Linked DNA regions of Homo sapiens: region 1 is linked to region 2. The links are contacts of gene promoters, found by promoter capture Hi-C in blood cells and fetal thymus (Javierre and others, 2016). All regions are on one chromosome and are shown on one strand. Each heading gives the region's core, a stretch centred on a gene start or on the middle of the fragment in contact. The rest is flanking DNA. Distances are from core to core; before and after follow the strand shown.

Region 1 (4,118 bases), core at 914-3,413, about 40 Mb after region 2:
CCAGATGAGACTTGTGTGGTGGTTGTGATGGTTAACAACTCTTGAAGGACTGGATTAGTTTAATAGTAAGCTTAATTCATGTACAGGTAACTTCTGAGTGTGCCTGCTAAAAGAATATATCCTTAAAGATGGGCGATTCTTTTTTCATAGATCTCTATTTCTGAAAGCATTCTAGTTTACTGCTAAACCCACTGGAAAACCTGTATTTGGAGGCAAGGTCTCCCTAAGCAGATTCTAGAGCAAACTGTCTCAAAGAAATAGACAAAATACAGATGCATTGATGACTAAGTATTTATTGAGACAAATAATACAAATTGGTGGCATACAAATTATTAAAAATAGAATGCTGAATTTTATTTATAGGTGGGCCATCAGATACTGTTTACAGGTTAAGCCTTACTATAATGAACTGCAAAGAAGTATGTATACTGTTTGAAATGAGGAACTTTATCCAGGCAAACATGGGATGTCAAGAGTGGCCTGTGGTACTGGAGACAAGGAATATCAAGTAATTGACATGTTACTTGTCTGTCAGATTTTAAGAATACTGTTATTTAGGCATATTCAAAGAAACAACTGCCTGTTTTAATAGGGATAAGTATATAACGAAAACATTTAATATCCATACCCCCCTCAAAAAGCCCTTTATTCCCAAGTAGCAACTAGTGTAAATTAATTTTCAATTCCTTTCTACCCTTCCTTTGCTAGAAATACTTATGCATAACTAAAACACTCAAGTCACTGAAGGGAACAAATCCTTTTACTGTCACTTGAATCTAAAAACACTCATTTTGTAATTTGGGCGAAGTAGCTCTCAAATATAATGCATTTTTTTCTATCCTATATATATACTTGGGTAAAATCGGAAGGTGAGTGCTTAGGCAGAAATAAGTAACTATTAAACCAGTGGGAGCAAAGTTCAGTTGGGCAATACTCTTTATGATACTGACAAGTGAAGGCTTATTAGTTCCAAAAGTGCTGGCTTTATTTCTGTAGTCACAGAGTAGTCTAAAGGTAAGGCTTACCCAGCTCTTGGCTCCCAAGTTAATGTTATTTATTCAGTATGCCAGATTTTTCTCAAGGTGCATTAGCTACTCAGGATAATTTTACTGGTGGGAACTGAGATTTTCTAGACGCCTAAATTAACTGCCAATTCTGGTTTATCTTAGGGACATGCTCATTGAAACAGTATTCTCACTCAGCTTGAATACTAAATTTTGTTCCCTTATTGTTAAAGTGATGAATATGTTTGTACAATGAAGACAACTTTCTTTTGGCTTTTTAGGCTACAGCTTCAGCATGAGAATTATACTTTGACACAGAAAATCAGGTCTATAAGTGAAATATAATAAAGTGTTCTGGAAAGCAGGAGACTACCTTACAACCCCAAGAGAAAAATATGTGGCACTAAGGTCTGGTTCCTTCTTCCCTCGTTGTTTTGTCATTTTTTTCCAAACTTTGGGAATCAAAATCTCGGTGCAAATACTGAATTCATAAATTGAAACAGACTCTTGGGTTCTATTATGAAGGCAAATAATACTTCTATGTATTTTGTAGGGTTATACAGTATAATACCTCGAATCCATGGTTGGATCTGACTGAACCTACATAGATACTAATCTGAATAACTCATATATAGAAAATGTGCAATATTCTAAGTACAAAAAATTAAACTGGACTAGTTTGCTTTTGTTTTATAGTATAAATGAAAATAATCTCGATGGCAAACTATTCAATTATCTGAGCAGAAATTATGAATGAAAGATGTATTCCAGACCTATATGATTGAGGGACATTTCAACTTGAATTCCCCAGCGGCAAAAGTGGTGTATAAACTAATGCTAGTGTATACACTACTAAAGTGCCAAGTTACGTAACATCTCCTAATTTTAAAAATGAAAGATTTTTCTTTTTTTCACTGTGAAGGGCAGTAACACAATCTTCCCCATGGGTGCAACTGAATGATTTATTTAGTACATTGATGTACTTAATTATTAGTGTTTCTGGGAAGCTGGATTTGACATAAACTTATTTTGAAAAACACGGTTTATGAAATTTTGTACTAAAATTATTAATAGACATTAAGTTTCTATAATCAAATGTGAATATCTGTTGTCACAGTTTTAAACGTCAAAGAAAAACCTTTGAAAATTAATATAGTGATAATAGATATGTGCTGTGTTTGCTGTTAAATTTAAGACCAAGAACACCACCTAGATTGATCCCTTAAGTAATCAAATTTTGAACTGTGCAATGCAGTTTAGTGTGTCTTTGGAAAACAATGTCAGAGCTGGAGAAAATACCTAAGAATCAAAACTTAAACCATAAATAGTACAGGTATATCTCAGCACAGCTAACTGGGACATCTAGGAAAAGCACACACACATAATAAAACCCCACAATTTTGCTTCAACAGAAGAATAAAGCAAAATGGCAACATACACAGTATCACTTTGCGTAACATTTCCCCCCAAACTTTAGCAGACCCAAAATGAGCTTAAAGACCCTAGAATGATGTCTGGGAATGCTAGTCTCTCTTGCTTTAGAGAGAATAGTCCATAATGGGAAAATTGCTAATATTTCGCAAGCTATTAATTAATAGTACTTAGAGTTAATCATGAAATATTAAGATTTTTTTAACTCCTTGATGTTTCAACAGTCATAGAACTATATAAAATATAAGGAAAGTAGTATGTGAATATGCTGTATATAAATAGAATTTACACTGAGAACACTGAGAAGCACTAATACTTTCTTCATGCTGCACACATACTGGGAATACTTTTACAGTAAATATGCAACTGTTTGATGGAGGTGATTTCTCCCCACATTTATAGTTTGATTCAGGGCACTGAAAACACTTGCACATAAATTATAAGTTCAATTTACAGTGAAAACTTACTCCCCCACCATTAACAGTAATCACTAACTTACCTTTTAAAAAAAAAAACCAATTAACATAGCAATATGACTTGATACTTTTTCATCATCATGAGAAACTTGCCCCTAAATACATGTTCAAGCATTAAGAATAGTTGTAAAGTTACATCATTACGAGAGGGAACTGCAGTATGGATTTGAAAACTTCAGGTAAGGGAACTGCTAGGCCTGCCTCACTTGTCCCTTTCTCTTGTAGCCAACTCACCACCTCCTGGGATGGGAGACAGTGGATTATCCAATTTGTGTTCTCATTCCCTCCTCTAAACACCAAAGACAATTTCCCCAGGAAGTGTAAACTAAAAGATGAGTTACATAGGTGTTTACAAAACACAACTGGACATTTTCCATTATTTTGGGATAAACCAAAATAAATTTTAAAGTTTCATTTGGAGATTTCAAAGCTGAAAATGCTTTCAGCAAATTCTTAGATCTTAAGAAAGTACCTTAGATCTTAAGAAAGTATATATTGTCCATTGTTTATAAAATCATTTGCCTTTTTGATCTAAAAATTTTAATACTTGAATTTAACAGGTTTTTCTTCTGGACAAGTTCTTTGGCATTCAAGTATAATCAATACTTTCAGAGTAGTCACCTGCATCACACTGGAGTGACTGCTTTAATTTCTAAATCATCAATTAGTGTAACCCAGGGATACTGATGGCCTTGATACATAATTTAGTCTTAGTGTGTGGAAATCAGGGTTTTGGGGGGCATCATCTGACCCCATTTCTTTTTACCACAATGGTTCCTGCTACAATGTCATAAGCTGTTCGATTATGCTGAAAAAACAGCAGTGTGATGAAAGCAGGGAAAAAAGAAGCAATTGAAAAATTCTTGATCAAAGCTCGGATAGTGGACCTAAAAAGTTAAAACAAAAATATCAGGTAAGTTACACATCAAACCACATATAGATTAATGGTATCCCATCAAGTTCAAAATAGACATTTAAAACACAATTGTACTTCTCTACAGAAGTCTACAGGGAAAAAGACATTCAAGGTATAGTTGAGAGAATTTTTACCTTTGATATATTTTCAAGTAGCACTGTATCATGATCAAACCACCTGGGCTATTTCTAATAAGACTTCAACAACATAAAAAGCAGTAATAAACATGTCTCAGAATATTGAATTAATGGTTTACAGAGCTTTCTAGTATTTTCTCAGAAGAAATGAACA
Region 2 (4,554 bases), core at 236-2,735:
ATGCTTCTTTGCTCATGCACAACCTAGACAAAACTATGTAACCAACTCCTGTGTACAGTTTCACGGAATTGCAGGTGCCTAACAAGATTTTCTTTTAACTACACCTGCTCACAAAATTTACACAGTAACTTGAGACAAACGTTCACAGGAAGTAGATAAAACTTTTCAATACACCGTTAAAGTCTTTCCAAAAATCTATTAACATTAAATTGTTTAGAAATTCTATACAAGTCTACTACTGTATTACCAAATAAATTCTTAAGCAAGAAAAGGGGAAAACTATCTTTTCATGCTTTCAGGCCAGTAACTAGCACTTAGTCTTCTATGTAGGGAGGTGCCCAATAAATACCGAGAGACGAACGGAACCGCTGAATCCCGTCCGCGAGGTTAGGGGAGAAACAGAAGCGGCAACGTCTCTGCTGCACGAAGCACCCGGTAACTTACTGCCTACCCCTCACTCCTGTCTAATCTTTGCTCTCAATGGATTGCTGGGTTGGTTTTGTTTTATTCATTTTTGTTCTGAAGCAAGGAAACTTAACTTCACGTGGAGGGCCACTGTAAACTGCTGCCTCCCTTAAAAAATGCATAACGAGAAGAGTAAGTTAAAACGTTTGGGGCCACACAGAAGGTTCTAGAAGTTCTGCAGACCCAAGCTGCCACAGTCCTTAATCGCATGGAATCTCACTGTAACTTTTATCTCCTCTGATTTTTTTCCGCTCCCTAACACCTAGGTAAATTAATCAAAGTGTGGCCACCGATAACGCCCTCACAGGTTTAGCTTAAATCGAATGCGTTTTCTCTCGGACTAGGGGAGATAATCCAAGAAACAAACAAAACTACACCACGTCCATCCACAACAAATCTCAACAAGCAACTTCGGTTGCCGCAGCCTCACTGTGCCCCAGGCCCCGGCCCGCCACACGCGGCCTCCGTCCGCTAACCGCCCGCGAACCGCCCGCGCGGCGAGCAGAACGCCCGAGACCGCCCGCCCGGAGCTCACCTGAGCTCCAGCTGGTCCAGGCTCTCCAGCAGGCGGCTGGAGCGGTCAGCCATGGAGGAGGAGCGGCAGAAGCGCCCCTCGTTGGCTTTAGCGTTGATCTTCGCCTGAGCCATCTAAGCCTCCGACGCGGGGTAGCCAAGAGGTCACCGGCCCCTCCGGCGGCAGCGAGTGGAGCGCTCCTTGGGCTGCAGGCGTCGCCGTCACCACGCGGGCGCCCGCCCTCCCTCTGACGCCCGCGGGGGCAACCCGGGAGGACTCGCCGACACCGCGGCTGCAGCGTAGCCAAAGAAGGGCAGGCGCGGCGCCCGCGGGGCTCGGGGACGCCGGGCCTGGGAGGGGGCTGCAGCGGCTGGAGTTAGAGGTTCGCGAGCCACACGGGCTCGAGGATGGGCCGACAGGGGCTCGGGCCTGGGGAGCGCAAGTCTCTGAGGCACGGGAGGGGCGGACGCAGAGACCGAGCGCCTAATGTGGCTAGCGGATCGTCTGCTCCCCGGACCCAGGAACTACCCGAAGCCCGCGCGGACCCACAGACCACCCCCAGCTCCGCCCCGCGAGGCCCCGCCTCTTCATGCAACCTAAAAGTAACCAACTCCCCCCACGCGAAGGTTCCTATCGGTCGACGGGCTGTGGGTGTATTGCTCAGTGACGGCTTCGTTTAGTTTCTCCCAGCACCCATAATTCAAAGCAAGAACAACGACATTATGGGGAGAAAACGTCCTTTTGTGAAACAGAAGGCAGTAAGTACAGCTCGTAGGCAGCCCACACTCACCTGACCTTCCTGTTACCACTTTATACTGAGATGAGAGTAATGAAAGCCCGGACAACACTGAAGCTATGAAGTAAAAAAGAAAAAGCTACTCCATCTTTCCCTGTCTAGCTAGATGTGGGAAGCAAAGTGAATTTACTTCATTTTTACCATTCTAATTTTCTTTTGTTTTTGAGATGGGGTCTAACTGTCGCCCACGTTGGAGTGTAGTGGCGCGATCACGACTTACTGCAGCCTCGACCTCCCGGGTTCAAGCGGTCCTCCCACCTCAGCCTCCCAAAGTGCTGGGATTACAGATGTGAACCACCACGCCTGGCTTAATGAAGGGGTTTTAAATTTTTGCTATTAAAATTATTCCTGTTGAGCGAGCCGAGATCTCGCCACTGCACTCCAGCCTGGGCGATAGAGCGAGACCTTGTCTCAAAAAAATAAATAAATAAATAAATATTCTGAGTGAAATAATTGGCATTAAAAAGTCCTCAACTTTTAAAAATCCTGTTAACAAAAAAGATGCAGTAGGCCTCTAGGTCAGGCACCAGCTGTCGGTAAAAGACGGAATAGAGCTGAGGATACAAAGATTAGTCTACTTAAAAAGTTAGGCTTTAGTCCCCTCTCCTGATAGCTCTATGCCTCTCATTGCAAGGATGACAATGTACAGGGCACAGAAAATGATAGATAATAATAGTTTAAAGCTGAGCCACCACCTTTAATCAGAGATCAAAGCCATTTAAATACTTGAACAGAGTTGAAGCCCTTAAGGCTGGATCCCAATTCCCTCTGAACTCATTTTAAATCCTAATTAACTCTTGGGGTAGGGGATTATTTGACCTTATTAAAAATAACTTTATCATGACACAAACGAAAACAAAACACATTTTGTGAGTGGTTTGAAAGTCTATCAAGTGACTTTAGAATCATCCTGAACTCTTTTTCTCTCTTATCCTAGATCCACACCATTAGTAAACCCCATCAATTTTGCCTTCAGAATATATCCAGATTCTTCCCAATTCTACCGCCACCATTCTGGTTCAAGCTACCTGGTGAGTTTGCACCTGGAATACTACAATACCTTCCTCTCTGGTCTCCCTGCTTCTACTCTTGCCTCTCATGTACATGTTATCTCAGTGCAGCAACTACAGCAATCCTAAATAAGGCAGATCATACCATTTATTCTCAGAAACCTTCACTGGCTCCTTACCTCAAAGTAAAAGCCCAGGTCATTAGAAAAACCTCAGTAAGTTCATTTCCTATTACTCTCCTAGCTCATCCTGTCAGCCATACTAGTCTTCTTGCTTTTCCTTGAATATACTAAGCTCCTGTCTGGACCTTAACCTCCTCCACCTGGAACTCTCTTCCCGATATGTATTTTCATCCTCATTCCCTCACCTTCTTCAGGTCTTTGCTCAAGTTTACCTATCAGTGAGATCTTTTCTGACAACCCTATTAAAAATAGCAAGCCTCCCCCCAACTCCCTGTCCCTGCACTATTTATTCCCTTCCCTTCTTTATTTTCCGTCGTTACACGTATCACCATCAGATATGCAGTTTTATTGCCTTGCTTACTAACATTGTACAATCCCCTCCTCTCCACCAATATGTGCTCCACAGAGGGGTAAGGGCTTTGTTTTGCTTACTGGTATATTCCAAGTGCTTAGAACAGTTGCTGGCACATGGTGGGTACTCAATATTTTGTGATTGAATGAATTAATGAGTGAATGATGTAATGAAAAGATAAGCATCTTTGTCAATGTTAGAAACATTTACTTCTGACGATAATCCATATAGCTTTCTCTGATGTTACACAGCGATTACATCTCCTTGTGTCTAAATTAAAGTCAAAGTATGAATTTTAAGATGATTTTTAATTATTTAACAAGTAGAAATACGATCAGTGACAATTATCAATTAAAACATTAAACAACCCAGTTACCTTTTCTTAACAGTCATGATGAAATATCCCTTTCCTGTCTTATCAGAAGCCTTAATTATTCTCTACCACACACACCACAAAAGCTTCTTAATAGAGCATCAGTGTCCATCACACCTTTGTGTAGAATCTCTGGCAACAAGGTGCTGTCTCCTCTTGCCCTGCCCCCACATCTGCTTAACTACTCTTCTTTCTGGAATGCCTCTTTTGCTCCCATTTTGTGAGCTCCTGCAGATGTGTTTAAGGTCCAGCTCAGTGACTACCTCCTAGAGCCTTGCTTGACCACTTAAACATACAAACTAAAAGCACAATGTGGTCATTTCGGAAAGATGATTGATAAATTCTCAAGCCACAATGTCTAGTTTTTAAAAAATGCAAGCAGGGAGGAACAGAAGTGACATATCAAGAAATTAAAAACACAAATTATAGATTGAAAAGACTATAGTAATAAAAAAATTCAATTTCACACTAAAATATTTAGTGTTACAGAGAAGGAACCAAATTCTAGCCTTTATATTTTGTCTTAAATATAAAGAAAAGCTTTATATTTATAGAAATGTTTTTAAGTTTGGTAAATAATTACTACTAAAAATTTTTAGAGATAAGACATTTCTGGTTAAATAACATGAAGCATATACACAAAGATAATATGACAAGCCCTTCTTAGTCTTCTACTTATGTCGTATTTTTTATTACTCACAATGGGGCCTCAATATTTAAGAATTAAATATGTAATACCAAATGAAGGAAACTGACAATTCAGTGAATAACTAAACTGAAAACACTTCACATGAAATAAAAATTTAAAGAGTTAAGGAAGATTATTCCTGAGTAGGCTTTCAACATTATTTCTTGAAGAATA

Evidence for each region. Contacts are between HindIII fragments. The CHiCAGO score rates a contact against its expected background, and 5 or more counts as called.
Region 1: a fragment that was not itself captured here is called in contact with the fragment with the promoter of BAG2 in region 2 in 1 of 17 cell types (activated CD4 T cells); the score reaches 5.7 in activated CD4 T cells.

Annotation. Positions count from the first base shown.
Region 1 is chr6:17,607,875-17,611,992 of GRCh38, reverse strand. FAM8A1 (family with sequence similarity 8 member A1) reads right to left here. Exons shown (of 5, transcript NM_016255.3): 5 at 278-3,798. The coding sequence ends at 3,654. Among named protein-coding and RNA genes, the nearest start is that of FAM8A1, 9.6 kb to the right of the region's middle. RefSeq lists silencers at 1-9, 1,169-1,369. The HindIII fragment of the contact is 4,181 bases long and covers 73-4,118 here.
Region 2 is chr6:57,169,257-57,173,810 of GRCh38, reverse strand. BAG2 (BAG cochaperone 2) reads right to left here and starts at 1,485. Exons shown (of 3, transcript NM_004282.4): 1 at 1,001-1,485. The coding sequence starts at 1,113. It overlaps ZNF451-AS1 (ZNF451 regulatory antisense RNA 1), which reads left to right and starts at 1,598. Exons shown (of 4, transcript NR_110742.1): 1 at 1,598-1,737; 2 at 2,713-2,806. It overlaps ZNF451 (zinc finger protein 451), which reads right to left. Exons shown (of 15, transcript NM_001031623.3): 15 at 3,506-4,554. RefSeq lists an enhancer at 581-1,338 and silencers at 1,073-1,342, 1,393-1,472. The HindIII fragment of the contact is 6,211 bases long and covers 1-3,780 here.